4 separate regions of the Homo sapiens genome follow, and regions 2, 3 and 4 are each linked to region 1. Evidence: promoter capture Hi-C in 16 types of primary human blood cells and fetal thymus (Javierre and others, 2016). All regions are on one chromosome and are shown on one strand. The core of a region is centred on a gene start or on the middle of the fragment in contact, and the rest is flanking DNA. Distances in the headings are between cores, read along the strand shown. Region 1 holds the start of SIDT2 (SID1 transmembrane family member 2). Region 2 has its middle 8.7 kb from the start of LNC-RHL1. Region 3 overlaps SIK3 (SIK family kinase 3). Region 4 has its middle 45 kb from the start of BUD13.

Region 1 (2,849 bases), core at 35-2,534:
GTGGATTTTTCACAGTGGACAAATTCCCCTTCTCTTCCCACCCAACTTGCAGTTGGCCTTATAAAACCTCTGTCACCCTCAATTTACAAGGCCAGCTGGCTCTCCCAGGCAGGAAGAGGGCTGGGAAGCCCTGCATTCATCTCCCTGGGGAGTCTGAGATGTAACTTGCCTGCACAGAGCTTTTCAGTTCTGGGCCAGTCTCATTCCCCTGAGGTTTTCTGGGCAAGCCCAGTAATAAGCCTGTTTCCTCTCCCACCGAGACCCCACAGAGCTGTCAGATTCTGGGGTTTAGGGTAGAGAGCAAGCCATGTGTGCTCAGACCACAACTGATGGAAGAATGGGGGCGGAAGAGAAGATGGGAATGAGCCAACTTCAAAAACTGCCCAGCTGGAGCTTCAGAGAAACATTGGTGGCAAAGGAAGGAGGACTGGTCAAGAGGCTCCAGTGTGGTTCTGGGAACTGGGAACCTAGCAGGACAGCTCGTTCCTGGGGCCTCCCAAAAGGGTAGCGGGGCGGCAGAATCGCCTAGCCCTCGTCGGCTTCCCCACTCGCCTCTGGCCCCTAAGCCCCCAGCCCTCACCCTGTTGCGGGTCACAGTATGGTTGAAGGTGTAGATGTTGACCAGCTCGCTGTTGACCTCGTCCACGTAGGTGCGCTCAAACTCGGCGTCTTTCTGCGAGACGTTCTTGGGCCCCAGAACCCCCAGATGGCTCTCGACCGAGGCCACCAAGAGCACCAAGAAGGGCAAGCCCAGAGCGAACATGGCCCCGGCAGGGCGGCAGTGGCAGCGGTGGTGGCGGCGGCGGCGGCGACAGGAGACAGGACACCTCCGGGACGGGTTGCGGCTGCGGCCGCAGCTTCCAGCATCTCACCAGGACCAGAACTTTAACCCCGGCCTGAGATTAGGAAATGTCCCCTCCCAAGAGCCCCGAAGAGGCTCCCAGGGTCCCCGCAGGGGAGGGGGCGGCCGGGAGGGGGCGGGGAGGGAGGGGATGCTGGCTACGGGAAGGGGTCCCAGCTCGCGAGGGGCTGAGTACGACCTGAGACCCTGGAGCCCCGGGCCAGGGCCGTGAGAAGGAGGGCGGCTGGTTGCCGGGAGCCTGGAGACGCCGGGAAAGGGGAGGGAGGAAGAGCCGGCGGCGGGGGCTGGCCGCGGAGGAAGGCGAGTCGCAGAGTGAGGGGCGTGATAGGTGGTAGCTACCCGACGCCGTGCTGGGCTGCGAGTTTTCCGAGGTGCGGGCCCTTTAAGGGCGGGCGGACGCGCCGTCCCGACGCACGAACACTGAAAAGTGAGCTGCGCCGCTGGGCGATAAACAGCAGGGCTGCTGGCCCGCCCGCTGACGTCAGGGGAAACTGACACAGATTTAAAGGACCAGGTCCCGCATTTGCCCTTAAAGGGGCTGCAGCTGTCTAGCTGAAGGGGAAAGCTTGCAATGCCTTCTCCAACTCCTACCCAACTCTCTCCCGTGATTTTCACCATCTCTGAAACTCACGTTGGAATAGGCAGATGTTTCTGTTAACAATCTCCAAGTGTTGGGTTCTTGCTGAACAACTCTTACATTTGCTCAAACATAAGGATTCCCCCACCCCCACCACCACCTTTACAACTAACATCGTCCAACCCTGGGCCACTTTTTCTCCGGGGATCTTAAAAAATGAAAAACTCGAAGGATTAGGAAACAGGACGGTGGCCCTACCGGCGGAGGGGAAACGGAGGCAGCACTGCAGGAGGAATCCCCATGCCTTTCCCACCTCCCTCTAGAGGGGCCACACAACTGCAGGGACGGCCTTCCGAGCTTTCCAAGCTTGCCGGGCTGTTTCCCCTCTTCTCTCAGAGACAGTTACAAAACTCATTGAAAGATACTGACCTTCAGTGTAAATTGGTGAAAACTTTTCTACAAAATATTTTGGCACTGTTTCAAGAAACTTAGAGAGCTTTATACCCTTTGATCCAGTAATTCCACTTCTGGACTCTATCCTAAGGAAATAGGAAGCACAGATAAAAATACCTGGGCAGCTACGCTTATCACTGTGATATTTATAATATAAAGCAAAAAGGAAATGACTTGGATATCCATAATGAGGGATTGGTTAAATGCACTATCATGAAGGCATCAAAAATGATGCTTAAGACTTCACAGGACACGTAAGCAGAGAATTCAGGATATGACACTAAATAAACAGTATATAGAGCCAGGTGCCGTGGCTCACACGTGTAATCCCAACACTTTGGGAGGCCAAGACAGGTAGATCACTTGAGGTCAGGAGTTCGAGACCAGCCATGGCCAACATGGTGAACCCCATCTCTACTATAAAAATACAAAATTAGTGGGGCGTGGTGACGCGTGCCTGTAATCCCAGCTACTGGGGAGGCTGAAGCAGGAGAATCGCTTAACTCTACCAGGCGGAGGTTGCAGTGAGCTGAGATCATGCTCCTGCACTCCAGCCTGGGCTGCAACAGAGCAAGACTCTGTCTCAAAAATAAATAAGTAAATAAAACCGTATATATTCCAAATGCATATAGACATGCATAGAAAAATAGAAAAAAATTGTACTAAACATTTAGCAATGTCTCCAGAAAGCAGGGCAAATTTTAAAAATAAAATTTAGCAGTAGTTATCTTTGAATTACAATTTTAAAAATAACACATATTGTATATCATTTTCCTTTAATTCTAAAAATATAGAGTAGTACCAAAAAATAAAAAATAATGGATTGTGAGTGGTTCTTAAATTTTATTTTTTATATTTAAAAAGATTTACAAATGTTCTACAATGTATATATATTTATATATTGCTTTTTTATCTGCCGGGGGGTGGAGACAGGGTCTCGCTCTGTTGCCCAGGTTG
Region 2 (2,853 bases), core at 80-2,579, 370 kb after region 1:
TGTCAAGCATGTTTGTGTGCTTTTTAACCTACAGTAATAAAGCATTATTTCCCACAAGCCCTATGAGGCAAGTATTATCATTATTCCCCTTTTACAGAGTTTGAGGCTGGGTGCAGTGGCTCATGCCTGTAATCCCAGCACTTTGGGAGGCCAAGGCGGGAGGATCACTTGAGCTCAGGAGTCTGAGACCAGCCTAGGCAATATAGTGAGACCCAATCGCTACAAAAAATTTAAAAATTAGCTTGGCAGGGTGGCACATGTCTGTGTTCCCAGGGACTCAGGAGACTGAGGTGAGAGGATCGCGTGGGCCCAGGAGGTGGAGGCTGCAGTAAGTTGTGATTGGTGATTGCACCACTGCACCCAGCCTGAGTGACAGAGTGAGACTCTGTCTCAAAAAAAAAAACGAAAGAAAGAAAACAAAAGAAAGAAATGGAATCACAGAGAAGTTAATTTGCCAAAGGTCACAGAACCAATAAGTGGCAGGACTTCGACCCAGCGGACTAGTCCCAGAGACAATGCCTTGTGGGCTCACTTAATCTATTTAATTTGATAGTGATTACTGTTTTATTTATGTCATATTATTTTGTATTTTCATTTTACTATGATATTTCTTTGCTTCTTGTATCTTCCTGCTTGCTTCTCTGTTGGTTTTGTGTTCCTTTAAAGACTAATTTCACACCTTTTAAAAAATTCAGTTAAAAAGTTCAAACTGCACATAAAGAGTCAAACAGAGCCAGGTGTGGTGACTTATGTCTGTAACCCCAGCACTTTGGGAGGTCGAGACAGGGGGATCACTTGAGGCCAGGGGTTTGAGAGCAGCCCGGGCTACATAGCAAGGCTTCATCTCTCCAAAAAATTGTTTTTTAAAAAAGAGTCAAACAGATCTACAAGTTAGTTTAAAATAGCAGCAGTATCTCAACCCCCACCTCTATTTTTCACTCTACAAAAACAACTACTGTCAACTGTTTTTTTGTTTCGTTTTGTTTTGTTTTTTTTTGAGACAGAGTCTCACTCTGTCACCCAGCCTGGAGTGCAGTGGTACAATCTTAGCTCACTGCAACCTCTGCCTCTCAGGTTCAAGCGATTCTTCTGCCTCAGCCTCCCATGTAGCTAGGATTACAGGCATGTGCCACCATGCCCGGCTAATTTTTGTATTTTAAGTAGAGACAGGGTTTTACCATGTTGGCCAGGTTGGTCTCGAACTCCTGACCTCAGGTGATCCACCCTCCTCGGCCTCCCAAAGTGCTAGGATTATAGGCCACCGTGCCCGTCTGACATTGCCTCTTTAGAAAGAAGTGCAGTTCATCTTCACTGATGAGGGAGCTTTTCTTCATAGAATAACATCAGCTGAAATATATAAAAGAAATAGTAGAATTAGAACATTCTCATTCTGCAACTCTTCTAATGTAATAATTAATTCAGGCAAAAATCTTGAATGTATGCTATGTTCATCAGGTTGCCAAGGTATTTTAAGATGCCAAAGTATCCCAATTCTGTTACTTGTTAATTACAAAGGGAAATAACCTATCTTTCCAACCAAGAGGTCTGCTAGTGACCACCTCACGAAGTGAAAAAACTAAGGATTGCTATTAGTGGGACAAGTAGCCATTGTGTACCTCCTGATATGACATCATGTGAACTTCTCACTTCACCTTTAAGTATTCTTAGCCAGGCACAGTGGCACATGCTTGAAATCCCAGCACTTTGGGAGGCTGAGGCAGGGGGATCGCTTGAGGCCAGGATTTCAAGACCAGCCTGAGCAACATGTCAAGACCCCCACCTCTACAAAAAATTAAAAAGTTAGCCAGGTGTGGTGGTCATGCCTGTAGCCCCAGCTACTTAGGAGGCTGAGGTGGGAGGATCACTTGAGCCCAGGAGTTTGAGGCTGCAGTGAGCTATGATCACACCACTGCACTCCAGCTGGATGACAGAGCAAGACCCTGTCTCAAAAAACAAAACAAAACAAAAAACACCGAAAAAACCCCACAGTAAATTAGAAGAAAGCTGCATAAATTAGAAGAAGCTGATGTGAAATCCTGAGTCCATGGTTCAATTTAGGAGGGACCATCTGGAGAGCAGGGAACCCCCAAAAGTCAGTTTCTTTAGGCCTATTTCCTTGGGCCAGCCAAATTTCTCAGGGAGAATGTTGTTCCATTTTCAATATGGGGAAAGATGGTGAACTGAGGAGTCTTTTAAAAAAATTTATTTTTGAGATGGGGTCTCATTCTGTCGCCCAGGCTAGAGAGCAGTAGCATGATCATGGCTCACTGCGGTCTCTAACTCGTGGGCTCAAGTAATCCTTCTGCCTCAGCCTCCTGAGTAGCTAGGACCACAGGTGCCACCATACCTGGCTAATTTTTGTATTCTTTGCAGAGACTGGGTCTCGCTACATTGCCCAGGCTGGTATCGAACTCCTGGGCTCAAGCGATCCTCCTGCCTTGCCTTCTCAAAGTGTTGGGATTACAGGCATGAGCCACTGTGCCCAGCCTCAAAATTTAATGTATAAAGTTTTCCTTAATTTTTCTTAGCACAAAAACCCTGGCCCCCAACAATACCTAGTTTTCTCCAGGCCGGAGTCCCACTCTTTTACCCTTTTCAGAGAGAATAAGCATCTGGTTTTCTGCTGCTTTGGGGGTACCCAGCCAAGTAGAGTTGAAGAGAACAGCTGCTTCTCAAACAGACTCTCGACCAACTGCCATATTTCTAGTCCCACTGCCACCCACTCTTCCAGAAGAATGTTGACACTAATGTCAGAGCATTTGGAGAGTTTAGTAGTGAAAATCAGGGGCCTTCTTGGCTTTCTCCACTGCTGCTTCAAAATTCATGTCAGGTGTGCCTGTCACCACCGTTTGA
Region 3 (2,700 bases), core at 158-2,657, 290 kb after region 1:
ACCAAGCTGGTCTTGAATTCCTAACCTTAAGCGATCCTCCCTCCTTGACCTCCATGAGCCACTGCGCCCAGCCAGCAAACAATTTTTTTAAAAAAGCAAAACTTACCTTACTATGTACAGTGCATTTCAATATATTTTATTCTATTCCATTTTAAAAAATGCTGATTTCGACTTACTAAATTGATCTCCTATCTGCTATTTCAGAAACAATGACATAGAAATACCTTTATAACCTGACTCCTGCCTAGCTCTTCAGCCCCAGCTCCCACTCTCCCACCAGTCACCCTAATTTTCTTCTCGTTCCCTGAACAAGTTCTGTTTTCTGGAGCATTTCCCACTGCCGAGAATACATCTTCCCTATCCCACCCCACTCCACCCACTCCTGTATTCTAGAATTCAGAATAAAAAAAATTAGATTGGATAGAAATAAGAATCTAGATAATTTCTATTCACTCTTCATGTCTCTAAACTTTCTCTTATCGTGGTGCTTACCAAGCTTTATATTGTAACTACTTCTTTCATTGTATGTCTTCCACACCAGACTGAACTTAGTGAAAGTACAGACGAAACATGTCTTTTTCACAACTGTCAATAACCTACCACAGGATCTGGTGTGTAGTAGGACTTAGTAAATATGAAATCTGAATCAGAACCACCCCATCCCCAGTGGCATTTGTTTACATTCAGAATAAAATTCAAGGAGTCATTATTACTATGGCCTACAAGGCACAGCTGTCATTGCCCCTTCTTTGGTCTCATTTCCTGTTACTGTTCACCTCCGGTTCTGAGCTCCAGTCACAGGGCCTTCCTTGCTGTTTCTCAGACTTGCCAAACACATACATTCCCCTCAGAGAGGAGTCATAGGTCCCCTCAGAGAGGCCTGTCCTGGCTACCCCCATCATTCTCTTTCTGTAATTCTGCTTTTTCTTCATAGCACTTACTTTATTGTCTCCTCACCTCCTATCACCACTTGACCATAATAAGCATTTGGTTTTTGTTTACTGTTATGTTCCCAGGGCTTTGGACGGTGCCTGAGTTCTAGTAGGCACTCAGTAAATATTTGTTGAATGAATTAATGCATAGGGTTGTTCGAACACTGACTCCAAAAGCCCCTCTGGAGAGTAGTCTTATCCAAATCATAATATCAGTAGTAATATCAAATAATTACATTTGTTTAGGGCTTTTGAGTTTATAAAATAATTTCTTTTTTAATAGGTTTATTTTTTGAGACAGGATCTCTGTCGCCCAGGCTGGAGTGCAGTGGCGTGATCTTGGCTCACTGCAGCCTCCGCCTCCTGGGCCCAAGCCATCCTCCCACCTCAGCCTCCTGAGTAGCTTGGTCTACAGGCGCACGCCACCACGCCCACCTAATTTTTGTATTTTTTTGTAGAGATGGGATCTTATTATGTTGCCCAGGCTGGTCTTGAACTCCTGGACTCAAGCAGTCCGCCCACCACGGCCTCCCAAAGTTTTGGGATTACAGGTGTGAGCCACTGCACCCAGCCAATATATTTTTTAAAAATATTTCAATTTTTCAGTTTTTATATTTTTGGCGACAGGGTCTTGCTCTGTCACCTAAGCTAGAGCCTAGTGGTATGACCATAGCTCACTGTAGCCTCAAACTCCTGGGTTCAAACAACCCTCCTACCTCAGGCTCCAAAGTAGCTAGGACTATAGGCCTGTGCCACCATTCCAAGCTAATTTTTTAAAAGATTTTTTGTAGAGATGAGTCTCACTACATTGCCCAGTCTGGTCTTGAACTCTTGGCCTCAAGCAATCCTCCCACCTTGGCCTCCCAGAGTGCTGGGATTATGGGCAGAAGCCAGCATACGCAACCTAAATTATTTTCTTTTACTTAATCTAATTTGAGCTACATAACTATATTTTAGAATAGGTAATAGCACATATTTTATCATCTTGCTGATGAAGTTTTGGAAGCTGAAGTTTAGAGAAATGAGTTAACTTGCCAAAGCCACACAGGTAATAAGTAACTAGGTCAGTATTCAAATTTAGTGTTTGTTTTACTACACCATACTGTTGCAAAAAGAGCAAGATAAACCACTTCCTTTACTTTTCCAATGTCCACAGTGTTTCCTGTGAGCAACTTGGATCTTTTCTATCCTCCACCCCCATCACCTCACACCATGGCAAGAGATTCTTACTGAACCCTTCCCGGAGCCGGCTTCAGATAGGGGGTCCTAGAAAACAGCTAAGCATGCTGTCAGCCACACTGTCTATTAGTGCTTAGAAATAAACTAACAGTCTAACTGCTTAGAACTATTATTTGTAATATGATGTTAGTTAACCTGAAAGCTTCAAGACTCAGAGAAAGCCAACAGGATTATCCTAAACGTAGTCGCTCTTTAATCCCAGTTAAATAATTCCCTAAGTAGCAATACAAGTTTTTGTATGATTAGTACAGAGAATGAGAAACAACCAGGGTAGGAAGTCAGTAGATACTTGCTATATTACCAATATGATCTCTCTGGCCCTTGGTAATATACATGTGCTTGGCATTGCTGAATGTCATAGGCCTAAATCCCAAGGCCCATTAGAGAATACTTCAAAAGGATAAGGCATAGCAGAAAATGAATTCATCGGTTATTTAGGCTTTTCTTAGCTTAGACAACCTTCAAGTACCAGAAAGTGTCAGGTGAAGGAAGTTTAGAGTCTGTCCCAGAGTCCTTTTTCTGCTTACGC
Region 4 (2,934 bases), core at 62-2,561, 450 kb after region 1:
GCCAGCCACAGTACAGCTTCCCCCTGCCAGTCCCCGAGCCCTGAACTCTGAGCAGGAGGGGATGGGACTGGGTCTAGGCTCAAGGAAAGGTGGCTGATGATGGGAAATCCATCTCCCTGCTCCACCCCCAGTCACCATGGACCTTAGGGAGATGGTCTTCCTTGTCCAGAGAAGACCACAGAATAAGCTGGGAGGTGAAGAGCCTGGTGAAGAGCTTTTGCTCTTCAGAGGAACAGTGGATGCTGGAAATTCTGGCAGTTGGGAAGGCTTCTGGACAGGGCCAAGGTGGGAATCTGGCCTTTGAAAGATGTAGAGGACTCAGAAAAGAGGGTTGGAGGTGAGAAATAGAGAGAATAGCATTATCCAAGTCTTTACCTTCTCTCTAAGAGCCCAGATTTTCCTAACGGGGCTAAGAAGCTGAGGTTTTCACAGGCCAAAGGCCCAGCCTGTGTGTCCCTAAATTTCTCTTCCTGAGACTGTGGTGTAAAATTAATTTTTTTTTCCTGGTGAGGGTTTGGAGGTGAGAAAGGTTTATTTCTGTTTCAGGACTCACGCAGTTATCCCAGGGTTAATAACCTGCACACAGCCTTGTCACCACAGCCACTAGTGCCCCTCTTCCCACCCCCTCTCTGCCAGCCTCATGTCTTCACTCTGGTTCCTGGGTTTCTCTAGTCCCTTTCTGATTCCTGGAGGAGGAAAGTTCTTTCCTATTGGGACTGCAAGTCCACCCCTCTGACTTCTGGCTAAAGCTTCCTGGACTCTGAAGGCTCTCCCTTCACTGTGAACTGTTTAGCCATAGCTGCCAACCTTCAACAAACTCCCTTCTCCATCTCCTCTCTTTGCCCGCTCCTGACTCCTGCCCTATGCTACCCTGAACCCCTCCTGGGTTCTTATTCTGTTTTTCTTTTGTTTTGGTTTCTCTGGGGCTCTGCTGAGGCAGCAAAGGGTGATGGGGTATGGTACTGATTCTGTGTTTACCTTGGACAAGCTATATCACCTCTCTGTTTCCTCATTGTTATAACTGGGAAAATGCTACAATCTCATGGAATCTTTCACTTTCCCATCTTCATCAGTTCATTTATTCCATCAAGACTTCACTTCTACGCGTCAAGTGCTGGGGATGCAAAGCTGCAGATGGTCTCAAGGAACGCGAGCCCTGTTGGGAGGCAGATAAAGGAACAGCACGCGCAGAGGCCCGGAGGAGGGAGGAGAATAGAAGTGTGGAGACTGGCAAGGGATTTGGGATGGCAGGAGGACAGGTTGCACTGGGGAGTGGTAGAGTTGGAGGCCTTTTGTTCCCTGGAATTTCAATACGATTTTGTGGGCTCTGAGCAGGTAAGAAAGGACTTTGTTGGGGTGGCAGGCAGGACTAACACTGTGTTTTAGAAAGATCGTTTTGGCAGCAGTGTGGAGATGGGCAAGGCTGGAGGCAGGGTCCCCACCCAGAGGCAGCTGCTGCTGTCTGTATGAAAGACGATGAACTGCAGCCATCAGGTGTGGCTCAAGAGTCACGGGAAGAGGAGAGAGCTTTGTCATGAGTCAGAAAAGGCAGGATGCAGCATCTCAGTGACTGTGAGGGTGACCGAGGGGGCGTCTTGGGTGACACCTGGGTTTCTGGCATGGAGCAATGCTCTTCTTTGAGAAGAGGGATCTAGGGAAGAAGGAGAGATGATGATGGTGTTGCTTTGGGAATCCTGGGAATGACCACCCTGGGTTTAGTTGCCTGGGACGGAGTGGGAATTGAATATCTGCTATTGAATATTTGATATTGAACATGCTGAATTTGGCGCTTCATCTGCCTTGCCTGTTTTATTTCTCACTCTGACCATACCTAGATCTTTTGAAAGGAGGCTTGACCCTATCCTGAAGCTTGACCCTGACCTTCTACCTTTCAACATTTTGGTTAGCGGGCGCCTGCTTGCGGACTTTCTGAGATGCACTTCTCAGTTATTCAGCTGTGTCTACATTCATTCCCACAGGCTCTGGGCAGGTTGGAAGAACCCACATTTGACCCTATGGCATTGGACTTGGGTTGTTGCTACCTCTATTCTGTGCCATGGGGAAGAAGGCTCTTCTCTGCTGAGTCCTAACAGGCAGATACTGGCTGTAAATCCTTTCTAGACCCCTCCCCAGTGCCCACGCTCTGAGGCTACTCGGAGGGCGGTGTGTTGTTGCTGAGACCCCTGAATCGCACTACTTCAGGCTGTCCCCTCACCTCGGGGGTGGAGATAAGGCCTGGGGTCTGAGTTTGAGGGGACTGATGCCAGGCAGGGCTCCTAGCAGTAAGGTGGAACTGCTTCCCTCCTCAGAGCGACTTTCTAAACCAGCTTCCCATTCCTCTGAGGCTGCCGCCACCCCTGGGAAGCACACATTTGTGGTTGCCGAACAGTTGAAGGGCAGTGGCTCTTTCTTCCAGGGCAGTGTGGGCCTGCCTCTGGCTCCCCCGGGAGGGCTGCACCCCCACCCACCTGTGCCCCTCATTAAGAGTAAACAGCCCAGAGTGCAGCACTTGGTGGGACCCATGAAGACCCCACCAGGAGTCCCTAGTGGTCCCCAGTGTCTCCATTATGCCCTCTGCAGTTCTCACAGTGCCCTAGGAAAGTCCATGTGCTTTTGCTCTCCAGAGAGCTCCTGGTCACTTTCTAATATGTCTCCAGCAACTCAGCATTATCAGTATTGCCCCAATATCTCTTTGATGGAATCCCTATCAGGCTACTGGCATTCATAGCTACTTCCCACAGAATCCCAGGAACACTCCAGTAATTCCCAGTGAGCTCCCAGTAGTGCCAGGTTGCTCCCATACCTCACAGTGGGCTTCTAGTGATATCACATTGTGTACCCAGGAGCACCTGGTGTTCCCCCAAGAACGTTCCAGCATGTTCCCAAGAATGCTCCAACACATGGCATCAACATTCCACTATTCCTGCAAGATTT

What was found. Contacts are between HindIII fragments. The CHiCAGO score rates a contact against its expected background, and 5 or more counts as called.
Region 2: a fragment that was not itself captured here is called in contact with the fragment with the promoter of SIDT2 in region 1 in 1 of 17 cell types (neutrophils); the score reaches 5.6 in neutrophils.
Region 3: a contact is called between a fragment that was not itself captured here and the fragment with the promoter of SIDT2 in region 1, in 3 of 17 cell types (total CD8 T cells, naive B cells and naive CD8 T cells). The highest score is 5.8, in total CD8 T cells.
Region 4: a contact is called between a fragment that was not itself captured here and the fragment with the promoter of SIDT2 in region 1, in 1 of 17 cell types (neutrophils). The highest score is 5.3, in neutrophils.

The regions. Positions count from the first base shown.
Region 1 is chr11:117,177,178-117,180,026 of GRCh38, reverse strand. SIDT2 (SID1 transmembrane family member 2) reads right to left here and starts at 1,284. Exons shown (of 26, transcript NM_001040455.2): 1 at 581-1,284. The coding sequence starts at 763. It also overlaps a transcript of PAFAH1B2 not described here. RefSeq lists a silencer at 976-1,185. The HindIII fragment of the contact is 6,932 bases long and covers 1-1,429 here.
Region 2 is chr11:116,804,103-116,806,955 of GRCh38, reverse strand. No RefSeq gene overlaps it. Among named protein-coding and RNA genes, the nearest start is that of LNC-RHL1, 8.7 kb to the left of the region's middle. The HindIII fragment of the contact is 3,075 bases long and covers 1-2,853 here.
Region 3 is chr11:116,888,419-116,891,118 of GRCh38, reverse strand. All of the region lies in intron 6 of SIK3 (SIK family kinase 3), which reads left to right. Among named protein-coding and RNA genes, the nearest start is that of APOA1, 52 kb to the right of the region's middle. RefSeq lists an enhancer at 492-551. The HindIII fragment of the contact is 1,817 bases long and covers 499-2,315 here.
Region 4 is chr11:116,726,730-116,729,663 of GRCh38, reverse strand. No RefSeq gene overlaps it. Among named protein-coding and RNA genes, the nearest start is that of BUD13, 45 kb to the left of the region's middle. The HindIII fragment of the contact is 1,120 bases long and covers 752-1,871 here.